Regions from separate parts of the Homo sapiens genome. Here region 2 is linked to region 1. Evidence: promoter capture Hi-C in 16 types of primary human blood cells and fetal thymus (Javierre and others, 2016). All regions are on one chromosome and are shown on one strand. Each heading gives the region's core, a stretch centred on a gene start or on the middle of the fragment in contact. The rest is flanking DNA. Distances are from core to core; before and after follow the strand shown. Region 1 holds the start of SPHK1 (sphingosine kinase 1). Region 2 overlaps QRICH2 (glutamine rich 2).

Region 1 (6,373 bases), core at 3,874-6,373:
GGACAGAGTCACAGCCTCAGAAGGAACCAACCCTGCCAACACCGTGATCGTAGACTTCCCAACCTCCAAAACTGTGAGACAGTCAATTTCTGTTGTCTACGCCACCAGGACACTAATACAAATGCCTATAGATGCTGGGCAGGCAGCTGAGACAAATGGAGTGGGTAGGGCTGCAGCTCGCCACCTTGAGAGGGCTCTGAAGAGAATCACCCTGAATTGCAGCCACAGTCAGCAGCCTGGAGGTGAGGGCATGTGACAGGCAGAGCCCAGAGGCCCAGAAGAGACCTGGGTCCCCAGCCTCAGCAAGGACGACAAGGACAAGGAGACCACCCAAGGGATAGAGCTAGGGTCACCCCACCATACACTCATCATAGTCAAACCACTGGGGAGAATCAGAAACTCGGGCAAAGCACACACTCCCTGCAAGCAGCCAAGAATCTCGCATGACCAGTCTGGTCCTCTGGATCTCCACATGTGGCCACGTGTGGCGCGTGGCATCCCCTCCACCCCAATGCCTGGTATGGTCGACCTGGAAATGACATCTAGGAAACTGAGAATGGAAAGCCATGTGGGGGCAGCGCTAAGCTTTTTTTTTTCTTTTTCTTTTTTTGAGACGGAGTCTTGCTCTGTTGCCCAGGCTGGAGTACAGTGGTGCAATCTCGGCTCGCTCTTGGGTTCAAGCAGTTCTCCTGTCTCAGCCTCCTGAGCAGCTGGGACTACAGGCACCTGCCACCGCGTCCGACGAATTTTTGTATTTTTAGTAGAGATGGGGTTTCATCATCTTGGCCAGGCTGGTCTCAAATTCCTGACCTCGTGATCCACCCGCCTCAGCCTCCCAAAGTGCTGGGATTACGGGCGTGAGCCACTGCGCCCAACCAGCCCTAAGCTTTTTTTTTTTTTTTTGAGACATAGTCTTGCTCTGTCCCCAGGCAGGAGTGCAGTGGCACCATCTCAGCTCACTGCAACCTTCGCCTCCCGGGTCCAAGCGATTCTCCTGCCTCAGCCTCCCAAGTAGCTAGGATTACAGGCATGCACCACAACACCCAGCTAATTTTTGTATTTTCAGTAGAGACGGGGGTTTCACCATGTTGGCCAGGATGGTCTCAAATCTCCTGACCTCATGATCACCCGCCTTGGCCTCCCAAAGTGCTGGGATTACAGATGTGAGCCACCGTGCCCGGCCCCTAAGCTCAAAGAGCTTGTGAGATAGAACCTCCCCCTTCCCCGGTCCTTGCAACCCCCTAGGCAGTAAAGTACCATAAAAAGGGAAAAACCGGAGTGGTGGCTCATGCCTATAACCCCAGCACTTTGGGAGGCCGAGGCAGGCGGATCACTTGAGGTCAGGAGTTTGAGACCAGCTTGGCCAACATGTGAAACACAAACTCTACTAAAAATACAAAAATTAGCTAGGTGCAGTGGCTCACACTTGTAATCACAGCTATTCGGGAGGCTGAGGCAAGAGTATTGCTTGAAACCGGGAGGCAGAGGTTGCAGTGAGCCAAGATCGCGCCACTGCACTCCAGCCTCAGCCTGGGCAACAGAGCGAGACTCTGTCTCAAAAAAAAAAAAAGGGAAAGAAGTTGAGGTCAAGGAAGACCTTGAGGCTATGCAATTAGGGAGCTGAAATCTCCTAGGGAAGGTAGCTTCAGGGAAGGGTGAGATGGCAGGAATCCTCTCCTCATAAAAGCAAGTAATTTGCCATCTGGCAGCCTTGACTCCAAGTTTCTGGAGAGCTGGGACCAGGCCAGGTGAATGCCTGCTTTCTTTCTCGGGAAAAGAAAAAAGGGGGTTCTCAGGTGTGTCTCCCTGGGGAGGCTGCCCACAAGGAAGGGGAGGCTGGGGAAGTTAGAAAAAGTCTCCCACCTGTGAAGCAGATTACCTGCAAGCCAAGCTCTGGGTTGGTGATCAAATCAGACCTCTCTGCCGGCCCAGGCCTGTTCCCAGGCCCACGGTGGGCCTTGCTGAGCACAGCGGCTGCTCAGCTGTTTCCAGACTCAGGATGAAGCCTGGGGAGGGCTTGGAGCTGCTTCCTCTTTCTTTTTTTTTTTGAGATGGAGTTTCGCCCTGTCACCCAGGCTGGAGTGCAATGGGACGATCTCAGCTCACCACAACCTCTGCCTCCTGGGTGCAAGCAATTCTCCTGCCTCAGCCTCCCAAGTAGCTGGGACTACAGGTATGCGCCACCACACCCGGTGTAGAGACGGGGTTTGAGACGGGTTTCTCCACGTTGGTCAGGCTGGTCTCCAACCCCCGATCTCAGGTGATCCACCCACGTCGGCCTCCCAAAGTGCTAGGATTACAGGAGTGAGCCACTGCGCCCGGCCTGCTGCTTCCTCCTCCTCAGGGAGACGCCACAGCTCTGCGGCAAGCAATCCACCAGGCACCAGATCCCCAGATACCTGCCCTTCAGGGAGAAATAGCCTGGGATACAGAGAGGCCCAGAGGGGAGCTCTGGCTGGACTTGGCTTCTCAGCGTGGGGTCTGGGTTCACAGGTTTGCTTCTCTGCTTTGTGGGGAACTGGTTGGAGGCTTGTGCAAGCCTCTTCACCTCTCAGGGTTTCAGGCCCCCCCAACTCCTTCCCGCCTTGTCCTTTTTTCTTTTTTAAAAAAGGAAGTAAAGTACAGTGGGAAACGGGCCAAGCTGGCAGCTTGAGAGATCCAAGTGCCCGCCCCCCGACCCGCAACCGTGGGAAGGGGAACCATCTTGCTCTTGGCCAATCCTGCCTCTCTGAGCAGGGATGCAGCTGGGGGAGTTTCTGGAGATAGGATCAAATTCTTTAGAAAGGGAGAAGGGGAAAGGGGTCTGGAGAAAGGCAGCCTGGGTTGGGGGAAGTGAATGACAAGAATGAGGGGGGCAAAGGCCTTGGAGGTGAGGGGGGCAGGGGGTTAGGCGCCAGGGAGGACAGAGGACCCATTGTGCGGCCTGGAACCGGGGCCAGAGGGCTTTGCCCTTCGCCTCCCTCCCGCGGGGCCTTCCAGAGCCAGGAGGGGAGCTGGGGCCCGGAGGCGTTGGATAAAGAGCCCGTGCCCCGCCTCCCCTTGCCAACTCAGTTTGCAGTCAACCCCGCCCCCGCCCGCTCCGCGGACTCAAGGCTGGTGGTAGTGGGCCTGGAGGCGCAGGATCCGACCTTTCTGGGGCCCCAGGAGGAAAAAAAAAGGGGGGACCCTGAACCAGGTGGGCTTTATCACCACGAACTCACAGTGCTTCCCTGTGCCTCAGTTTCCCCTCTTCAGACTCTATGGCTAATGACAGAGCTTTTCAGATTTGGTGGAAATGCTCTCCGGGGCGGGGAGCAGACGGGGAAGGCTGCCCCAGCTAATCTCCGCAGCCAGTACCCTCGAAGGCTGAGATCTCGGGGAGCACAGCCTCCGATTCGCGTTTTCTAGGCACCAAAGTCCCTCGCTGGAGGAAGAGGAGGGGAAGAAGGCAGAGGAGAGGGGAGGGGCGGACGGATCTGGTCCTGGGCTCCCGCGCGGAGCCCCCTCCTCCCACAGCCGCCGCTCGCGTCCCCGCAGCGCATGACCGCGGCACTGCGGCTGCAGGGCTCTCTCCCCCGCCCGCGCCGGATTCCTGGAGCAAGGGGGTGGGGGGCTCGGAGGTGCAGGACCCATCATTCCGACACGCGCCGCGACGCCAGGAGTCGGGGATGACGCCCCTGCTCCCTCCCCTCGTTCCTGTTTCTCGGAGTTTTTCGACCCCTGAGCGCGTCGCTGAGTCACCTTCCCGGAACGCGCTCGGGACGCTCTGGACCCAGCGGGGACTGCCCGGGGGCCGCGCAAGGCGAAGGCGCACCCGCCGATACGCGCGCGGAGCTGCGGCCCCAGGGACCCCGCGTCCCAGCCAGTGCCCCCCGACCCGCCCGGGGACTCTCGGGTCCCGCCCGTCTGACCCCCCAAGTGTTGGGAAACGGGGCCGAGCTGCCTGGGTCCTCCGGAAGAGAAGACACCGCGGAGGCGTGCCGGAGTTCAGGGCGCCGCCCGGCTAATTGGCTGCGTGCTCCTCCTGGACCTGCCTCTTCTCGACTTTAAGAAGCGATGAGAGAGGTGTGTGGGGGCGGGTGGGGCCGGCGGGGGCGCGCGAGCCCCGCAGCCTCCCGCAGGGGCTTGGTTTCTCCTAACTCTGGCCCTACCTGGGCAGGTCACCAATGGGCCTTGGCAACTTCTTCCTCCGTCTCCGCCGTAACCCCCCAGGGATCTAACTCGAGGTGCTCGCGGACACGTTCTGTGGCTTGCCGCGATAAGTGTATCACAAACACACTGACAAACGCGTCCCTACTGGCCTCCAAAGAAGTGACAACTTCTGAGCGCGTTTCCGGCGCCCCTTCTTCACGCTGAGCCAGAGGGGGCGGGGGGCACGTACCACATGCTTGGCTTTCCAATCCCGACGGGGGCCCCCAGGCCCATCTACACTGTCAAGCCTCCTCTCCGGCTCGGAGCCCCCGGCCTGTCGCCTGCTCTACCCGGGACAGCGCGCTAGGCGGCCTCAGGCTCGGTAGCCCAGCTGCAGCGTCGGGAAGTTAAAAATAACCTCCGTGGGAGCGCGGGGGAGGAAGAAAGAGGGAAGCTGGTGGGCGGCGGGCGAGACGCCCCGGCCTGGAGAGGCGCCCCGGGTGGCGTGCGGGCCTCGAATTTCGGGTGGGCTAGGGCAGAGCGCGCAAAAGGGGCGCTGCATCCCGGCGCCGACAGCACCCGCGGGGGCGAGGTCGTGGCGTCGAGGTGAAACCAAGGGTCCCCCGGGAGAGCGGAGCCGCGCGCGCCCGGCGCTCGCTCCGACACGAGTTCGCGCGGAGCCCGCGCCTCCGTCTGCGCTGCGCGGTCGCTTTCGCGCGCCCCAGACACTGCGCTCGCGGCCGGGCCCGGGACTCCGCGCCTCGCGGCCTGCCGCCTCAGCTCACCCGGCCAGGTCGCGGCGCCGCCTTCTAGCCAGACGCCTAGGACGAGCGGCGGGGGCGCGCTTGCCGCTTCCTAGGACCCGGGCGGGAACCAGCTCGTGGCCCGGCCGTGGGCGCGGGCCGTGCCGGAGGCGGCGCGCTGAGGCCGGAGGCGGGCAGAGGCCGAGGCCGCGCCGGGCTCAGGTTCCACCCCCGGGAGCGCGGGGCGGAGCCAGGCCGGCGCCGAGGCTCAGTGCCCTCCCCGCTCCGCGGCGCCGGCTGCGAAGTTGAGCGAAAAGTTTGAGGCCGGAGGGAGCGAGGCCGGGGAGTCCGCTCCAGCGGGGCGCTCCAGTCCCTCAGACGTGGGCTGAGCTTGGGACGAGCTGCGTTCCGCCCCAGGCCACTGTAGGGAACGGCGGTGGCGCCTCCCCAGCAAACCGGACCGACTGGGTAGGGCCGCCCACCCTGCCTTCGCGCCGCTCGTGGCTCCTGTGCGGCCCGCCCTCGCGGGGCCCCGGGAACTGGGCCACTTGTCGCTTGGGCGAGAGCAGGCGGCAGCTGGTGGCCCGGTTCGGGCTTGGCTTTGGCGCGACCCGGGAGCGGCTCCCACGAGCGCCGCGCGCGTCGCAACGGAGCGGGGCCCTGAGAAGCGCGCGCCGCGGCTCCCACCGCTCTGGAGCTCCGGGCAGGGGACACGGCAACCTGGATGGCTGGGGCAGGGATCCTCTCCCAGAACTTCGTGCCCAGCAATGTCCGCTCAAGTTCTGGGATTTTTACGCAGCTGGACTCCCCTCCCCCTGGCAGCCCCGAGGGGTGAGGAGCTAGTCCGTCGGAGGGAGCCACGGGGCTCTGACTCATCCGTCGGGCCGGAACCGAACCCCAAGCCCCAGGGAGAAAGCCCCGGAGCAGGCGCCCTTCTCAGGGATTGTAGGCTTAGTCACACGGCGGGGGCGCCCTCGGAGGCACCGGACCTCAGCTCTCTGGACTTCCCGGGAACCTGGCTCCCCGCGCGTGGTCCCGGGATTTAGTCGGGCGCTCCCCACCTCTGGCAGCTGCGGCCCCGGACTCCGCCAGCGCTGTCTTCTCTCCCTCAGGTCCAGCCGCCGCAGGGAATGACGCCGGTGCTCCTGCAGCCACGGCTCCGGGCGGGGAAGGCGAGCCCCACAGCCGGCCCTGCGACGCCCGCCTGGGCAGCACCGATAAGGAGCTGAAGGCAGGAGCCGCCGCCACGGGCAGCGCCCCCACAGCGCCAGGGACCCCCTGGCAGCGGGAGCCGCGGGTCGAGGTTATGGATCCAGGTTTGTGGGGTTCCTGCTGGGAAGGGCTGTAGGGGGATTCCTGTTCCTCGCCAGGAATGATGGAACGCCCAGCTGGACGAAAGGGGCTGTGGACGATCGGGAGAAACATTATCCCTCACGAGGCCAGAAGCCGGCCGAATCTGAGCCAAGGAAGGGGGTGGCAGGGGCGCCGCGTCCCCACCCCAGGTCTCCCAGCAAAGGCCG
Region 2 (6,373 bases), core at 419-2,918, 95 kb before region 1:
ACCCAACCCCCTCCGACAAAAGCCAGGAGCCCTTGTGGACATCCATCCGCCCATTCATCCATCCCATGGATGTAGAAAGCTGGCATTAAGAGAATGACTGGGCCAGGCACGATGGCTCACGCCTGTAATCCCAGCACTTTTGAGAGGCCGAGGCGGGTGGATCACCTGAGGTCAGGAGTTCAAGACCAGCCTTGCCAACAAGGGGAAACCCATCTCTACTAAAAAATACAAAAATCAGCTGGGCGTGGTGGCTGGCGCCTGTAATCCCAGCTACTCAGGAGGCTGAGACACGAGAATCATTTGAACCTAGGAGGCAGAGGTTGCAGTGAGGCGAGATTGTGCCACTGCACTCCAGCCTGGGCAACAGAGCAAGAATCAGTCTTAAAAAAAAAAAAAAAAAAAAAAAAAAAAAGGAATGACTGGGCCGGGCGTGGTGGATCACACCTGTAATCCCAGCACTTTGGGAGGCTGAGGTGGGAGGATCACCTGAGGTCAGGAGTTCCAGACAAGCCTGACCAACATGGTGAAACCCTGTCTCTACTAAAAATACTAAAATTAGCTGGGCATGAACATGCATGCCTGTAATCCCAGCTACTTGGGAGGCTGAGGCATGAGAATAGCTTGAACCCAGGGGGCAGAGGTTGCAGTGAGCCGAGATCGCATCATTGCACTCTAGCCTGGGCAACAGAGCGAGACTCCGTCTCAATTTAAAAAAAAAAAGGAGAATGTCTGAAGGGATCTGGCCGTCCCTTGCAATGACCTCTGGCCCCAGAAAATCCACAAACTGGACTCCAAGGCTGCCACAGATAATGAAAAGAGCAAGGCCGGGTGTGGTGGCTCACGCCTGTAATCCCAGCACTTTGGGAGGCCGAGGCAGGCAGATCACAAGGTCAGGAAATCGAGACCATCCTGGCTAACACGGTGAAACCCCATCTCTACTAAAAATACAAAAAATTAGCCGGGCGTGGTGGCGAGCACCTGTAGTCCCAGCTACTTGGGAGGCTGAGGCAGGAAAATGGCGTGAACCTGGGAGGTGGAGCTTGCAGTGAGCCGAGATTGCGCCACTGTACTCCAGCCTTGGCGACAGAGTGAGACTGTGTCTCAAAAAAAAAAAAAAAGAAAAAAAGAAAAGAGCAAAGCCCTCATTATTTGGCTCAGCTGAATCATAATAGCTTTGAGCATCAGTTTTTAAAAAAAATTTTTTTAGAGACAGGGTCTTGCCCTGTCACTCAGGCTAGAGTGCCATGGCGTGATCATAGCTTACTGCAGCCTCAAACTCAGGCTCAAGTGATCCTCCTGCCTCAGCCTCCCAAGTAGCTGAGACTACAGGCATGCACCACCATGTCTGGCTAATTTTTAAATTTTTTGTAGAGATAAGTCCTTGCTATGTTGCCCAGGCTGGTCTCGAGCTCCCGGGCTCAAGTGATCCTCCTGCCTTGGCCTCCCAAAGTGCTGGGATTATAGGCATGAGCCAGCGTGCCCAGCCTGAGCATCAGGTTTTAGATCCAGGAAATGAACACGATGATACCCAAGGTGCAGTTCCTATCTGATAAGATTGCAAAGATCCAATTAGATAATAATGTAAAAGAAAGAGCTATTTAATCCGTAAAATACAAATGGAAAGTGCTATTATTAGCATTAAAAGACAAAGTGGGGGCTGGGCACGGTGGCTCACGCCTGTAATCCCAGCACTTTGGGAGGTCAAGGTAGGCAGATCATCTGAGGTTGGGAGTTCAAGACCAGGCTGACCAACATGGAGAAACCCCATCTCTACTAATAATAATACAAATAATAATACAAAATTAGCCGGGCATGGTGGCACATGCCTGTAATCCCAGCTACTCGGGAGGCTGAGGCATGAGAATCGCTTGAACCTGGGAGGTGGAGGTTGAGTGAGCTGAGATGGTGCCACTGCACTCCAGCCAGGGCGACAAGAGCAAAACTCCATCTCAAAAAAAAAAAAAAGACAAAGTGGGTTGACTCTTCCTTACTTTTGCTTTCTCCTGCCAAACTTCTTTGGCTAGCGTCTTTACGGTCTTCAGCTGCTCCTGCAGTTCAGGAGGTATGGTCCTTTTGACTATGGAAAGCAGAAGCCTTATGATCAGAGGGGTTAGATCTCTAGTGGGCTCCCAATCTCCATTTCCAGCCCCTGTAACACTGAAGCTACCCTAGAGGACAGCAGGACCTATTACTTTATCCTGTGTCTCCTGGTGACTGGGAAAGGGAGGTGGGAAGAAGGGAGAGAGAGCTGTCCTTAGCCCATGAAACATCCACCTAATGCCTGACATCCTAAAGGGCTTTGGGACAACTGACTCCCGAATTCCAACCACTGCAAAAAATCTTAATTACTCTCTGGGCTTGGAGTTGGGAACAGGCAAATGTTAAGTTTTGTTTTGTTTGAGACAGGGTCTTGCTCTGTCACCCAGGCTGGAGTGCAGTGATCCATCACAGCTCACTGCAACCTCTGCCTCCCTGGCTCCAACAATCTTCCCACCTCAGCTTCCCAAGTAGCTGGGACTACAGGTGTGTGCCACCACGCCTGGCTAATTTTTTTTTTGTTTTTTTTGGTAGAGATAGAGTTTTGCCACATTGCCTAGGCTGGTCTCGAACTCGGCCTCAAGCTATCCACCCAGCTCTGCTTCCCAAGGTGCTGGGATTACAGGTGTGAGCCATTGCTCCCAGTCAAAATGTTAAGTTTAATTCTTCAACATTCTCTCCCGCCCACCTCCCAATGCTACTGCTCTCTATAACCAGACACTTTCCCCCACTGCTGTGCAGAGAGCCTGACAAAGCCACAAGAACCCGCTCCACTCCTCTCCTGGGGCTTAGTTCTCTCCTTTGCCCACCCATTTTTTTGGACTCTGAAGGCTGTGGGACATGCTCTGAATGACATGCTGTTTTCAGGGACTCAGGGAGATGTGTAGCAGCCAGGAGTTGAGGCCAGGGGAAGAAAAGGATGAAACCAACTGAAAACAGAGACAATGGTTTCTCCTCTATCGGCAAGCGGCACCCACCCATCTGTGCCAGCAGGAACTGGATCTTCTCCAAGTCGGTTTGGCCGGCCTGCTCCTCATCCAGATCCTTCATACTCTCCTTTAGCCCCACATAGAGGCTACTGAGCTCTCCCATCAGATGAAATGTCTCCACTGCCGTGGGGAAACTAGAACTCATTCTACGCAGTGAATTGCGTCGCTCACTCAGGACTTCACTCGAGACTTCGCTCCCTTCTGATAAGACTCGGTCGACGGAGTCTGGACTCCTGAAAAGAGTGACATCTTGGCCTGGGGCCTTCTGGGCAGGAATTCCATGTCGGTCCGAGGCTCGTGTTCTATTTGGATCCAAACCTTCCTGGCCATGCTGATCAGCACTTAGATACCCTGGGCCACGATAACCAGGATACATTGAATCATGACTGTCAAAGAGAGAGAAAGCATGGCCATGCTGAGCTGCATCTGGGTATACCTGGTCATGCTCACCTGGGCCAGGTGATGCCACATGCTGTTGATCTGGGTGTGTAGATCCCAAACCTGTACTCAGTGGTATTGGGCTGTGCTGGTCTGTGCCAGGATGCATCAAACCTTGCTGATAAGTTTCTGGTGGTACCAAACTCCTTCGATCTATACCAGGTGATGCCAAACCTTGACTGGCTAGGAGTGGTGACACCTGGCCGTATTGTTCTCTGCCAGGAGGTACCATACCATGTTGATATGGACGTACTGATATAAAACCTGTAGAATCTGCCTGGAATGTTGAAGAGCCACGAAGCTTTGTGCCTGGTGCTATCAAGCCTGGCTGATATGCACCAGGTTGTCTCAAACCATACTGATCCATTCCTGGCTGCACCAGACCACGTGGATATGTCCCAGATTGAGATAAATCATGCAAATATGCACCAGGTTGTACCAAACCAAGAGGATAGGCACCAGGTTGTACCAGGCCATGTGGATCTGCCTGAGGTTGCACCATACCTTGCTGACCTATTCCAGGCTGCACCATACCCAGCTGACCTGCACCAGGCTGGACCAAACCAGGCTGATCTGCACCAGGTTGGATCAAACCACGCTGGTCCATTCCAGGTTGGACCAAACCACGCTGATCCACTCCAGGTTGCACCAAACCACGCTGATCCACTCCAGGTTGGACCAAACCACGCTGATCTGCACCAGGTTGGACCAAACCATGCTGAACTGCACCAGGTTGGACCAAACCACGCTGAACTGCACCAGGTTGAACCAAACCACGCTGATCCACTCCAGGTTGGACCAAACCACGCTGAACTGCACCAGGTTGCACCAAACCACGCTGAACTGCACCAGGTTGCACCAAACCACGCTGAACTATACCAGGTTGCACCAAACTACGCTGAACTTCACCAGGTTGTGCCAAACCATGCTGATCCACTCCAGGTTGGACCAAACCATGCTGATCTGCACCAGGTTGGACCAAACCACGCTGATCTGCACCAGGTGGGACCAAACCACGCTGATGATCTGCACGAGGTTGTGCCAAACCACGCTGATCTACTCCAGGTTGGACCAAACCATGCTGAACTGCACCAGGTTGAGCCAAATCACTCTGATCTGCACCAGATTGTACCAAACCATGCTGATCTGCACCAGGTTGCACCACATCAATCTGATCTGCACCAGGTTGGACCAAGCCAGGCTGATATGCACCAGGCTGCACCAAAGCACGCTGAAATCTGCCAGGTTGGACCATGCCAGGCTGATCTACACCAGGCTGTACCAAGACACCCTGACCTGTGCCAGATTGGACCAAATCATGCTGACCTGTGCCAGGCTGGATCAAACCATGCTGATCTCTACCAGGTTGGGCCAAACCAGACTGATCCATTCCAGGCCAGACCAAACCACGCTGATCTGCACCAGGTTGGGCCAAACCAGACTGATCCATTCCAGGCCGGACCAAACCACGCTGATCTGCACCAGGTTGGACCAAGCCAGGCTGATATGCACCACGCTGCACCAAAGCACGCTGAAATCTGCCAGACTGGATCAAATCATGCTGCTCTGTGCCAGGTTGTATGAAGCCAGTTGCTTCCAAACTGGGCTGCACAAAACCTTGCTGATCTGCACTAATTGGCATCAAACCAGGTGATACCAAACCATGCTGGTCTGTAAAAGGTAGAACCAGGCCATGTTGATCGACGACAGGCAATGTCAATCCTTGCTGGTCTATACCAGGGGGTACTAGTCCTTGCTGACCCATGCCTGATATTACACATCCACGCTGATCCATGCCAAGTGGTTCCATACTGCGTTGGTCTGTGCCAGGAAATGTCATACCATGCTGATATGCACTGACTGAAACCAGACCATGTTGGTCTGTGCTAGGTAGTTCCAATCCTTGCTGGTCTCTGCCAGGTACTGATGGTGGCAACATACGTTGCTCATCCACGACAAATGGTATCAATTCCCGATCATCCATTTCAGGTGGTGGCACACCAAGCTGACCCATGCTGAGGGGTACCACACCATGTGGGTAAGTGCTAGCAGGCACTAATCCAGGCTGATTCATGCCAGTTGGTTCTAACCCACGACGATCTGGCCTTAGATGGACCTGACTCTGGCTAGCGGGCACACTACTGGGCTGGTCTCTGGCCAAGGGTAAGTCCTGTTGAACTGGACCAGGACGTGCATTTCTTCTTGGTTGTGTCGAGGTAAGCTTCTCTCTACTCCTGTGACGATCTGAGTCTGATTTGAATTGGAATGTAGAAGACTGATGGAGTCGTGGCACGCCAGCTTCATCACGGGCCCTCGGCTGCTGCTGTCTCCCAGTACCAGAGGGGACCTTGCTTTGTTCCCTACTGGAAACCCCATCAGAGGGGTGTGCTGTGCCACCAGATCCTGATGCAGTCCGATCCGGGCCAAGACCACTGGCAGAATCCAGAGCCTGCTCAATACTTGGTTGCTTGGTAGAGTCTCCGCTTAGAGTCCCTTCAGGTGATGTTAAGGAAGTGAACCCTCCGTGCTTAGAAAATCCCATAAGTGTTTCTGAGCCCTGGTTGGAGAGGAAGAAGGAAATCAATAACAGTCAAAATATTCACTATCAGAGTGGGAAGAAAGGAAATCTGGAAGTTCTGACTAGGATGATTTAGGGCCCCTGGAGAAAAAAGCCCTCTGGTCCTAAAAGCTAAGCTTGACATAAAGAAACACACTGATGGGAGGCCGAGGCGGGTGGATTACTTGAGATCAGGAGTTCGAGACCAGCCTGACCAATATGGTGAAACCCTATCTCTACTAAAAATACAAAATTAGCCAGGCGTGGTGGCATGTGTCTGTAATCTCAGCTACTCAGGAAGCTGAGGCAGGAGAATTGCTTGAACCTGGGAGATGGAGGTTGCCGTGAGATT

Evidence for each region. Contacts are between HindIII fragments. The CHiCAGO score rates a contact against its expected background, and 5 or more counts as called.
Region 2: a contact is called between a fragment that was not itself captured here and the fragment with the promoter of SPHK1 in region 1, in 3 of 17 cell types (megakaryocytes, endothelial precursors and M1 macrophages). The highest score is 6.0, in megakaryocytes.

The regions. Positions count from the first base shown.
Region 1 is chr17:76,379,486-76,385,858 of GRCh38, forward strand. It overlaps SPHK1 (sphingosine kinase 1), which reads left to right and starts at 5,124. Exons shown (of 6, transcript NM_001142601.2): 1 at 5,124-5,321; 2 at 5,966-6,169. The coding sequence starts at 6,160. RefSeq lists silencers at 3,762-4,051, 4,072-4,211, 4,792-5,491. The HindIII fragment of the contact is 9,575 bases long and covers 885-6,373 here.
Region 2 is chr17:76,288,001-76,294,373 of GRCh38, forward strand. QRICH2 (glutamine rich 2) reads right to left here. Exons shown (of 19, transcript NM_001388453.1): 4 at 3,015-6,021; 5 at 1,992-2,077. Among named protein-coding and RNA genes, the nearest start is that of QRICH2, 17 kb to the right of the region's middle. The HindIII fragment of the contact is 4,189 bases long and covers 1-3,763 here.